3 separate regions of the Homo sapiens genome follow, and all the other regions are linked to region 3. The links are contacts of gene promoters, found by promoter capture Hi-C in blood cells and fetal thymus (Javierre and others, 2016). All regions are on one chromosome and are shown on one strand. The core of a region is centred on a gene start or on the middle of the fragment in contact, and the rest is flanking DNA. Distances in the headings are between cores, read along the strand shown.

The links. The method cuts DNA at HindIII sites, captures the fragments that hold promoters and counts their contacts. A CHiCAGO score of 5 or more calls a contact.
Region 1: a fragment that was not itself captured here is called in contact with the fragment with the promoter of HEMK2 in region 3 in 1 of 17 cell types (fetal thymus); the score reaches 6.2 in fetal thymus.
Region 2: a contact is called between a fragment that was not itself captured here and the fragment with the promoter of HEMK2 in region 3, in 1 of 17 cell types (total B cells). The highest score is 6.9, in total B cells.

What each region holds. Positions count from the first base shown.
Region 1 is chr21:26,836,449-26,839,758 of GRCh38, forward strand. ADAMTS1 (ADAM metallopeptidase with thrombospondin type 1 motif 1) reads right to left here. Exons shown (of 9, transcript NM_006988.5): 7 at 3,139-3,310; 8 at 1,991-2,166; 9 at 1-1,830. The coding sequence ends at 1,131. Among named protein-coding and RNA genes, the nearest start is that of ADAMTS1, 7.3 kb to the right of the region's middle. The HindIII fragment of the contact is 1,646 bases long and covers 1,238-2,883 here.
Region 2 is chr21:26,171,732-26,175,363 of GRCh38, forward strand. The region is part of intron 1 of APP-DT (APP divergent transcript); the gene reads left to right. Among named protein-coding and RNA genes, the nearest start is that of APP-DT, 2.7 kb to the left of the region's middle. The HindIII fragment of the contact is 3,625 bases long and covers 1-3,149 here.
Region 3 is chr21:28,883,401-28,886,986 of GRCh38, forward strand. HEMK2 (HemK methyltransferase 2, ETF1 glutamine and histone H4 lysine) reads right to left here and starts at 1,967. Exons shown (of 6, transcript NM_013240.6): 1 at 1,812-1,967. The coding sequence starts at 1,945. It also overlaps the pseudogene HSPD1P7. RefSeq lists enhancers at 1,266-1,825, 1,821-1,880, 1,826-2,384. The HindIII fragment of the contact is 10,284 bases long and covers 1-2,342 here.

The DNA.
Region 1 (3,310 bases), core at 811-3,310, 2.0 Mb before region 3:
CTTGGAAGGAACACCCAAACCAATACTTATAAAGTACATGTAATTTATAGTAACATATTTTACTATATACATATGGAAAAAATCATATTCTCACAGAAGAGCTGAACAGACATTCACCAGGATACGACTGTTGGACCAGCTGCTGGAGATGGACCTGCTACCCCTCAGCAGCCTCCCCACCACAAGACAAGTGATCTCAATGTCCCCAAACCTGTGGGACCCTGTTCTACACACCTCATTTTTGTTCCGGCGTTTCATCCTCCTTGTGTGATTGTACTGATTTTCATGAGACACAAGTTACTTCTTTACATCCATATTCCCAAAGCAGGGTTACATGGTAGGAAAGAAAGGAAGTTGGAGGTACTAAGCTCATTGTGTCTCCTCTAGCTTTTACCAGCATCTAATGCTTCACTGCTTTTTTTCCATTGTAGACTTTAATGCACTTGAATAAATACATGGAGTTGTTTTTTCCTCAAAATGAATTACACAAATAAAGACTGAGATGGTCCAAAAAAGGAAAGAGGAAGCCATTTGCGTTATTTCACGTTGCTGAGCCTTTCTCTCATGTTGAACAATCTGAAGTTTTAATTCTCGGTAGAAATAATGTATAAACATTCTCTGAAACCATAGCAGCCATAAACAGTGCTGGTCAAAGATCCTATTTGTACTCCTTTCTCCCCCCATTGTTAGTGAGGTAAAGTAAAACAGGTCTTAGTAAAATCTCACTTTTCTCCTACTTTTCATTTCCCAACCCCCATGATACTAAGTATTTGATAAGTACCAGGAAACAGGGGTTGTAATAGTTCTAACTTTTTTTGACAATTGCTTTGTTTTTTCTAAACTTGTAATAGATGTAACAAAAGAAATAATAATAATAATGCCCGGGGCTTTATTATGCTATATCACTGCTCAGAGGTTAATAATCCTCACTAACTATCCTATCAAATTTGCAACTGGCAGTTTACTCTGATGATTCAACTCCTTTTCTATCTACCCCCATAATCCCACCTTACTGATACACCTCACTGGTTACTGGCAAGATACGCTGGATCCCTCCAGCCTTCTTGCTTTCCCTGCACCAGCCCTTCCTCACTTTGCCTTGCCCTCAAAGCTAACACCACTTAAACCACTTAACTGCATTCTGCCATTGTGCAAAAGTCTATGAAATGTTTAGGTTTCTTTAAAGGATCACAGCTCTCATGAGATAACACCCCTCCATCATGGGACAGACACTTCAAGCTTCTTTTTTTGTAACCCTTCCCACAGGTCTTAGAACATGATGACCACTCCCCCAGCTGCCACTGGGGGCAGGGATGGTCTGCACAAGGTCTGGTGCTGGCTGGCTTCACTTCCTTTGCACACTCGGAAGCAGGCTGTCCATTAATGTCTCGGCATTCTACCAGTCTTCTCTGCCAACCCAATTCACATGACTTAGAACATTCGCCCCACTCTTCAATGACCCATGCTGAAAAAGTGGGGATAGCATTGAAAGATTCCTTCTTCTTCTTTACGAAGTAGGTGTATTTAATTTTAGGTCGAAGGGCATTGCCCACAGTAAGAACCTGGATGGTCAAGGGCTCTTTGAGAGGGCTAAAGCTGCGAATTCTTTCCAATGCCGCAGAGGAGCCGCTGTACCTCAAGACAACACCTTTGTACATAATGTCTTGCTCTAAGGTGGACAAAGTGTAGTCACCATTAAGAATATATGTGCCATCAGCAGCTTTGATGGCAAGAAAGCTGCCATTGTTCCTGGATCCCCTCTGGTTCCGCTGTTTCACTTCGATGTTGGTGGCTCCAGTTGGAATTGTGATGATATCATGATATCCAGGTCTGCAGGTGACAAAAACAGGCATAAATCTCTGATTCATTGGCTAATTAGATTATTTAGCTTAAAAACACATTAATCTTTTATGAGACATATTTTTTTCCCAGACCTGTTGAAAGGCCCATTTAAATTATAAGGTCTGCAAATAGGTGTTTTAAAACTTACTTTGCACTAGTAACTGATCCTGATATTTTTTTACAAGTAGATCCATTTCCCCCGCAAACACCACATTTATCAAACTTCTTTTTGGAGTCTATGATGCGATCACAACCAGCTTTTACACACTGTCCTTGCACACAGACAGAGGTGGAATCTGGGCTACATGGAGTACCATCTACAACCTGAAAAAAGGACACATGTCTAGTGTTACATACAAGCAAAGGAAGGAGATGCTGCAATGATAAGTGTAAACATTTTCTCTCTACTTTCCTGACCATGCTAATTAAACACAGTACCCTCTACACATTATGCATTTCATGCATTTACCCTTCACTTTGGCATATTTTTCAGTACTACGTATAGACATCTGAAGAAATTAGATATTTTTAAAAATTATTTATCTATTGACCTATGTCTCCTCCAGCTAAGGTCAATGAAAGTAGAGCTGTTTGTCACTTTGTTTACTGCTGTATCTTCAGAGCCTAGAATAATTAGTATCTGGCAAGAGTAAGTGCTTCAGAAATCACTTGCTGAATATTGAATCTGCAACTTGGGAATATTTTCATAGCCTATGGTGCTAATGACACACGATCATCTCAATCACATTAAATTCCATTTTCTGTCTCAGATCCAGATGTATTCCCTTAGCAAAACAGCAAAAGAAATGATGCTTTTCCTAGTTCAATATGTGTTTTCAAACATAAAAATAATCAATACTCAGACTACCACTTCTATTATTCTGTTTGCACCTGCTACTGCTAGTTACCCAGTAACAAGTATTTTGGACCATGCATAGACTATTTTCCAAAACTACTGGTTACTGTGTGAATATAAAATGTATCTAACTATGAGCTGTATGTGAAGCCTAGTCGCACAGAGGAGCGCTTGACTGTCCAAAAAGCTTTTCTTTGCATATAAAAGAGTAATAGCGAGCAATTGCAAGCATGTGAAGTGTTAGATTTAAGCTTCATTCATAACTGAAAACACTAAACTCAAAGCAGGCAGTTGCCAATTAATGTAAAAGAAAAGGAGTTCAAATTTGAAATTGAAGATATGTTAATATGGAAAGCAAAGAAAGTATAACAAAAATTGTTTGAAAAGGTAGCAAGCCCAGGCCTTGATTTTTAGGTAAAAATAAGGTAAAAACGAACTACCTTGGGCTGCAAAACGAAGAAGTAGCCAATGCCTTTGGCTTGGCAGATGAGCTTGCACCTGTCCTTTGGTGAGACGCCAGCGTACTTGGGAATCCATTCCACCGCAGGCCCACTCCCAAAGGAAGCTTTTGAAAACTCGTTGTGTGCTTCACATTGTTCCTCTCTAAAGGTT
Region 2 (3,632 bases), core at 87-2,586, 2.7 Mb before region 3:
ACCGTCCACTGTCCAGTTAGTGTCCAGATAGTTTAGAATGCTCTAGAACTGCCCAGATATATCCCCTGCTCTTGACCTGAAGTAGCATTTAGTTACCAAGCCACAGCCCACTCCACACAGGGCTTGGAGCGAAGGACTGAAGCCAGGGAGTGCTCTGGCCCTTCTGAGGGCTGCACTGCAGCCTGCCTTCTCTCCCTTGCTCATTGCGCTGACAAGGGTGCCTAGGCCCGGGAAGGATGGCTCAGCCAGCGGGGTACAGACTTCCTTCCTGGGAAGTCATTTCTGTACCAGCTCCCCTAAATGTTGTCTTGTGTGTCTTTTCCCGCACTAGGCATTCAGTCTTGACTCTTGGATTACTTTTGCCCCTGAATGTCCTTTGGATGTCCTCAACAAATAAGGACAAATATTTATTGTCATGCAGTATTTGTTTATACGCTTCATGTCATTTACTTCCTACAAAAGCCAAAGAGGCTGTTACTATTATTCCTATTTATACATCAGGAAAATGAAGCTAATGAACTCCCAAATCTAATAGCAAGTAAGTGACATGAAGCTGGGACAGCAGGGAAAAGCCTAAAGTGACAGGACAAACCCAGTTGTTCACTTTCTGCACCACATTTACCCACCGCAATTCCGTATTTGTTCCGGGTCTGCATGAGCAAATAAGGCAAAAAAGAAGGTATCTGAATGCAAAGAGAAACGTGGTCCAAAGCTACAAATCTTGCAGAGTCCACTGCAAAATGCAAACGTGAGACCCTTTGTTACATTATTAAGAATTTTAAGGCCGGGCCTGGTGGCTCATGCCTGTAATCCCAGCACTTTAGGAGGCCCAGGTGGGCAGATCACCTGAGGTCAGGAGTTCTAGACCAGCCTGGCCAACATGGTGAAACCCCCATCTCTACTAAAAATGCAAAAATTAGCCGAGCGTGGTTACTCCTGCCTGTAATCCCAGCTACTCCAGAGGCTGAGGCAGGAGAATCGCTTGAACCTGGGAGGCGGAGGTTGCAGTGAGCCAAGATTGTGCCATTGCACTCCAGCCTGGGCGACAGAGCGAGACTCCACCTCAAAAAAAAGAAAAAAAATTAAATTAAGAATTTTAAGATGGCAATGGCAGAGCGTTAAACCAAGCATGGGGCTCCTCCCACCGCAGGGCCTGTGAGACTCTCCAGGGTTGCATGCCCATGAAGCCAGCCCTGGGAAGGAGGAGGCAACTTTAAGAGTGAGGGACTTTTCTTTGGGAGGCTGAGGCGGGCGGATCACGAGGTCAGGAGATCAACACCATCCTGGCTAACACGGTGAAACCCCGTCTCTACTAAAAATACAAAAAATTAGCCGGGCGTCGTGGCGGGCGCCTGTAGTCCCAGCTACTGGGGAGGCTGAGGCAGGAGAATGGCGTGAACCCGGGAGGCTGAGCTTGAAGTGAGCCGAGATCGCGCCACTGCACTCCAGCCTGGGCGACAGAGCGAGACTCCGTCTCAAAAAAAAAAAAAGAGAGTAAGGAACTTTTATTGAGCATGAAATTCAAAATTGTAGAGATGAGATCATAATCTATAAAAATTAAAGTTCTTAGATTTAGCAGTTTCTCTTTCCACTGTTGAAATTCACCACACTGACACATTCCCTGGTCAAGATGTTCCTGGGGGAAGATGATTATGCTGCTGATTGCGTCAGAATGATGGACATTGCCTGCATGTTCTCTGGTTCCTTCACTACTCAGAGATCCTGATGGCTTTTTGCTTTTCAGCCACTAGCTCTGTTCTGCATTTAATGCCATTTCCTGCCCTGAGGTGTCTTGCAGATCCTCCAAGCAGAAAACGCAGGAACATCCCTAGTTATAACCCTACAAAGTTGGGGAAGGAACCAACAACCACTTGTCTGCTGGAATTCCTACAACAGCATCCCCATCCTAGTTTCAAGTGTCTCCATTTGTGAGATATTCACTGGCTCTCCAGACTGTGCATTCTATCTTTGGGCATTTCTGGTTACTAGAATGTTCTTATCCCATTTAAAGCTCACATCCCCCGCCTTTAAACTCCCACTCAGATATCCTTGTATCCCCAGTGACCAAGCAGAATAATTCTTTTCCACACTTCAGATCTTTACAAATTTGCCAGCGGTTTTCATGCTACTTCTTCCTCTAGAGTCTTCTCTTCACAAGGTAAAACAGGCACTTCCTTCAACAGTTGCATAATGGCATGGTTTCTGGTTCCTTCCACACCTTGGCCATTCTCTAAATGTGTTCTGGCTTGTCTGTGTCTTTTTACAGTACTCGAAGTGTGCTCTGACTGCTGCAACATGGGAGATGTTGCCCACTACTCTGCCTGGAGCCTCATGTTGCATTTGACTGTTTTAGTAACCGCATCCCACTGCAGACTCCAATTGGTCCAGATACCCCATTTCTATTTTATGCATAGTCTGCTGGGCCGCGTTTCTGTCGTCTTGTGTTTAGGCTGTTATCTGTGCCCTATAAATATCACCAAAAGCAATCGTTAAGTCTGAGCCAGATGAACCCTGCAGGGGTGCCATAACTTACCATAGACTGGATGGATCAAACACCAGAAATGTATTTCCTCACATTTCAGGAGGCTGGAAGTCTGAAATCGAGGTGTTGGCTGAGTTGGTTACTTCTGAGGCCTCTCTCCTTGGCTTGCAGATGGCCACCTTCTCCCTGTATTCTCACATGGTCTTCCCTCTGTGTCTTACTGTGCCCTAATCTCCTCTTGTTATAAGGACAGCAGATATTGGGTTAGGATCCATGCTAATGACCTCATTTAACCTTAATTACATCTTTGACCCTATCTCCAAATATGGTCACATTTTGAGACACTGTCGGGTTAGGACTTCAACATATGAATTTGGGGGTGGGGGTACATAATATGTCCTTCTTTAGAACAGCTAAGACTTATTCTATAATCCTGTCACTCATCTTTGGCCTTTATTTCCAGTGACCTTTCTTTCATTTTCAGTCTGAAGATCATTCAACTCAACAGAAAAAAAAAAAATAGAAATGGAAGAGATCTACTTTCTGTCTGTCCTGCATCAGCATTGCATCATGATCCCCATGCAGCTGGCTTACCCCTCCCGCAATCATCAGGCTCTGAAAAGAAAGAAAATGACCTTTTATACTTTCCTTTAGAAAATTTTGTCAAAGCTTAAACATTGACATTTAATGACATTTAAAATCTGTATTAGTTTACTAGAGCTGCCATAACAAAATATCACAGACTGGGTGGCTTAAACCAAGAAATTTATTTTCTCACAGTTCCAGAAAAGTCTAAGATCAAGATGCAGATAGGATTGGAATCCTCAGAGGTCTCCTTGGCTTGCAGATGGCTGCACCCTTGCTAAGTCCTCACACGTTCTTTCCTCTGCACAGGTACCTCTGGTATTTCTGTGTGTCCTAATCTCCTCCTCTTACAAGAATACCAGCCAGATTATATTAGGGCCCACGCCAGTGGCCTTAATTTAATTAGCTCTTCAAAGGCCCTACCCAAATACAGTCATGTTCTAAGGTACTGGGGGTTAGGGCTTCAACATATGAATTTTGGGGGAACATAAGTCTATAACCAAACCTCTAAAATTCCCCTAAAATTATTCTCACATTTTAAGCTACTCTGATGTCCGTCCTTGGG
Region 3 (3,586 bases), core at 717-3,216:
ATTCCTTCGCACAAGGAGCTCCTAGCTTAGTATTTCCTAAAATAAAGTTTGTATTATTACAAAATTTATTTTTGAAAAAAGTTCCTCTATCATTTTTAATACCTAACATTCATAGAGCCATCAGTATATCCTAGAGAATTAAAAGGTCCCCCAATAATAGAGCAGGACAAAAATTCTTTTTCTGGACAGCTATATGCTAATTGGGAAAATAGTATCTGATCTTTGAATGTTAACCATCTTAGAATGCTGTTAACTATAAAATCTTCATTCTACTGTACTTTATCTTTCCATTAAATTTATTTTCTTGCCTATAATCTTGGAAGTTGCTTCTTTTTTAGAGACAGGCTCTTGCTCTGTCACCTAGGCTAGAGTGCAGTGGTGCCATCACAGCTCACTGCTGCCTTTAACTCCTGGGCTTGCTCAAGTGATCCTCCCACCTCAGCCTCCCAAGTAGTTAGGACTATAGGCACGAACCACAGTGCCAGCCCTCTATAATGTTATACATGCATCAAAAGCATAAATCATCCCCATTAAAAAGATCAGCTTGATGGCATTTAGGGAAATTTTTAGCACTGAACTCCCAAAACAACTACCCAGTGACAAGCTCCAGAGGTTTTAAACTTTTGGAACCAGTCTACACATCTGACAAGTCTTTATTAGGTGGTAGTAAGGTCTGAGAATCTCACCAGGTGGCTTCTCTTTGAAAATAACTATCATGGTCTCATAAATAATTAGAATTCCAAACTAGAAATAACCCAAGACTTTATAACAAAATCAGCTCCTTTTACAGCATACTTTGCAGTGCAATTTGTGCTTGTAAATCTTTCTGGGCTATCTTGAGAAGAAAAGACAAGTTATAAAACAGTACTGTTCCACTGTATATTCCAGTAGATCCAAAAGTTCCATCATCTACAATGAAAGACTAGTTTAATAAGAGCTGGGACATTTTATACTGGAGAAATATGACCAAGTTTAAGAGGGATAAATAAATACAATATAGATCTTTGAAACCTGAAAGCTGTTTGTTCCATCCTGAGAAAACCCAGTTCATCTTATCTTCAAACAAATCTAACAACCCAAATTCCTTACATTTAAAAATCACAATGTCAGTATTCATTCCTTCTGCTATTAATTTAAAATTGATGGCGATCACTTCAATAAATCCATTTAAATAAAGTGCTAGGGTAGACTATTGTCTGCTAGCTGCATGTAACTTTTTTTTGGTAACAATTAAATGAAAAATTCAGTTCCTCAATAGCACTAGCCACATTTCAAGCGCTCTGTAGCCACATGTGAGGACTGGCTGGTGCTAGAGTATGCTATTCAGTGGGTTTAAAAATATTTCCCCACTCCAGTAACACAACTTTCTTTCATGTTTGTTAAGGGTGCTTTCTATGTGCTGAGTAAATCAAATAATACCATGCAATTTTAATATGTAATACTTTAAAAATATTAATAAGCAATGTTTCCGGAATATTTTGTTTCCAAACGTGTTATACTATCGCTTCTCTCAGGGACATGTGTTCTTCAGATTAACAGGCGACAGGAAAAGATACGCCTTTGCATGGTAAGCAGTCAGGGAGCTCATGAGACAGAGCAGCCCCCTGGCAAAGGAGATGCGTCCCCGGCACACTCATTACTTGTAGCTACAGGAAAATTCTCAATTACGGCGTCCTGGCTGTCAATCATCTGCAAGTGGACCCCGCCTGCTCCGGCTCAGGGCGGTGATAGTCACCGTTCCGGCCCTCCTCCACCGCACTTCTTCAGAAAGCCGCAACCCTTTCCCGTCAGAGCCCCTCCCCTCCTCGCACCCTGCCAGTTCGGCAGCCGCTGCCTCCAGCGCGTCCAAAAGCAGAAACGTGTCCTCCGCGGGCTCGTACACGTCGCTGAAGGCGCCGCGGCCCACGTGCCCGTGGAACGGCGTAGCGAAGTTCTCCCCTGCCATAGTCCTTCGCTGCGTTCCATGCGCGTGCGCAGGGCGTGCGCATGCGCATGCGCATGCCCTCACCCTCATGCGCAGGCCTAGGAGTGGGGCTGGCGTCCCGGGCGACCAGTGTGTTGTTGTTGGGTCTTAATTCTAAATTTGTCAGTGGCTCTCCTTGAAATTGCTAAGTAGACAGTTGTATAATCCGTGACTATTGACATTTGCTTTCTTCTTTGGAACATTTAAATTTTATTCTGTGAACTAGAACCTGATAGTGGGCATTCTGAGTTGTTTTTGACTAAGGTGAATGTTCTTTCTTCATTCTAATGATATTTGGAAATTCTGTTTTATTCCTAGTTTGCAAGGATTTGAAAAAATACATAATAAATTTTACTGTTTTTTTGTCAGCTGAACTTTAAGCTTTACGCTATAAAGATGAAGACTTTCCTCGTTTTTTTACTGTACTTTATAAATTGCCTTCCTGATGAATCATGAATGCACTCTTTTTATAAACCTTAAGCAAGATGATGCGGTTTAATACACTGCTGAATTGGGGAGGCTAATAATCTGGCTCCGTTTTTTTTTACCAAGATTACGCTACCCTCGTTATGTGAGTTAGGACACTGTTTCTGGAACATTAGGTAGAAAGCCTTAAAACTGGCTGGGCTTGGTGCCTTTTTGAGTGAATGGATCTTTGATGTTTTGGAACATCTGTAAGTTATTAGACTATTCAAGTATTTGCATTCTTTTTGAGTCAATTTCTGAAATTTGTTTCGCAATGAAACATTTTTACAGCTCGTTTTTTAAATTTGAGAAATAAAAATACAGAAAAGTATTTGAGGTACAAATTTTATTTTATTTTATTTCTACTTATGTATTTTTTTTTTTTGGAGACAGAGTCTCGCTGTATCCCCCAGGCTGGAGTGCAGTGGCGCGAGCTAGGCTCACTGCAACCTCTGCCTCCCAGGTTCAAGCGGTTCTCCTGCCTCAGCCTCCGGAGTAGCTGGGATTACAGGCGCCTGCAGCCACGGCTGCCTAATTTTTGTATTTTTAGTAGAGACGGATTTTCCCCATGTTGGCCAGGCTGGTCTCAAACTGCTGACTTCAGGTGATCCACCCGCCTTGGGCTCTCAAAGTGCTGAGATTACAGGTGTGAGCCTTTAACGCACCCGGCTGGGTTACAAATTTCAAAACCCCAAGTTTTAAACCCAGAAATGACAGTATTTTCTCATGTTTCCTTAAAATATTTTTTAAATACAAGAACTAAAATATTACAAATAAGATGGATGTTCTTTCTCTATTTGCCTTCAGTTTAATTGTGTAACATTCTCTCCAAGGCTCTTATGGATTTAGTGTATGTCCATCTAATCCATGTAAAAACATGGATCTTGTATTTATACGTTTATAAACATTCATATCTTTATAAGCAACATACGGTGTATTTTAAAATTTACATAACTGGTACTAGGTTGGACATATTTTTCAAATTTCTTTTTCAGTCAACATTATATGAGATTTATGTTTTGATATATGGTTAGGTTACTCCTCTTAACTGCCATATAGAATTTTATTATGTAAAAATATGAAAAATATATATATATAGAAAGAGTTGTACTTGATCTCCTGGGTTCAAGCGATCCTCCTCCCTCAGCCTCCTGAGTA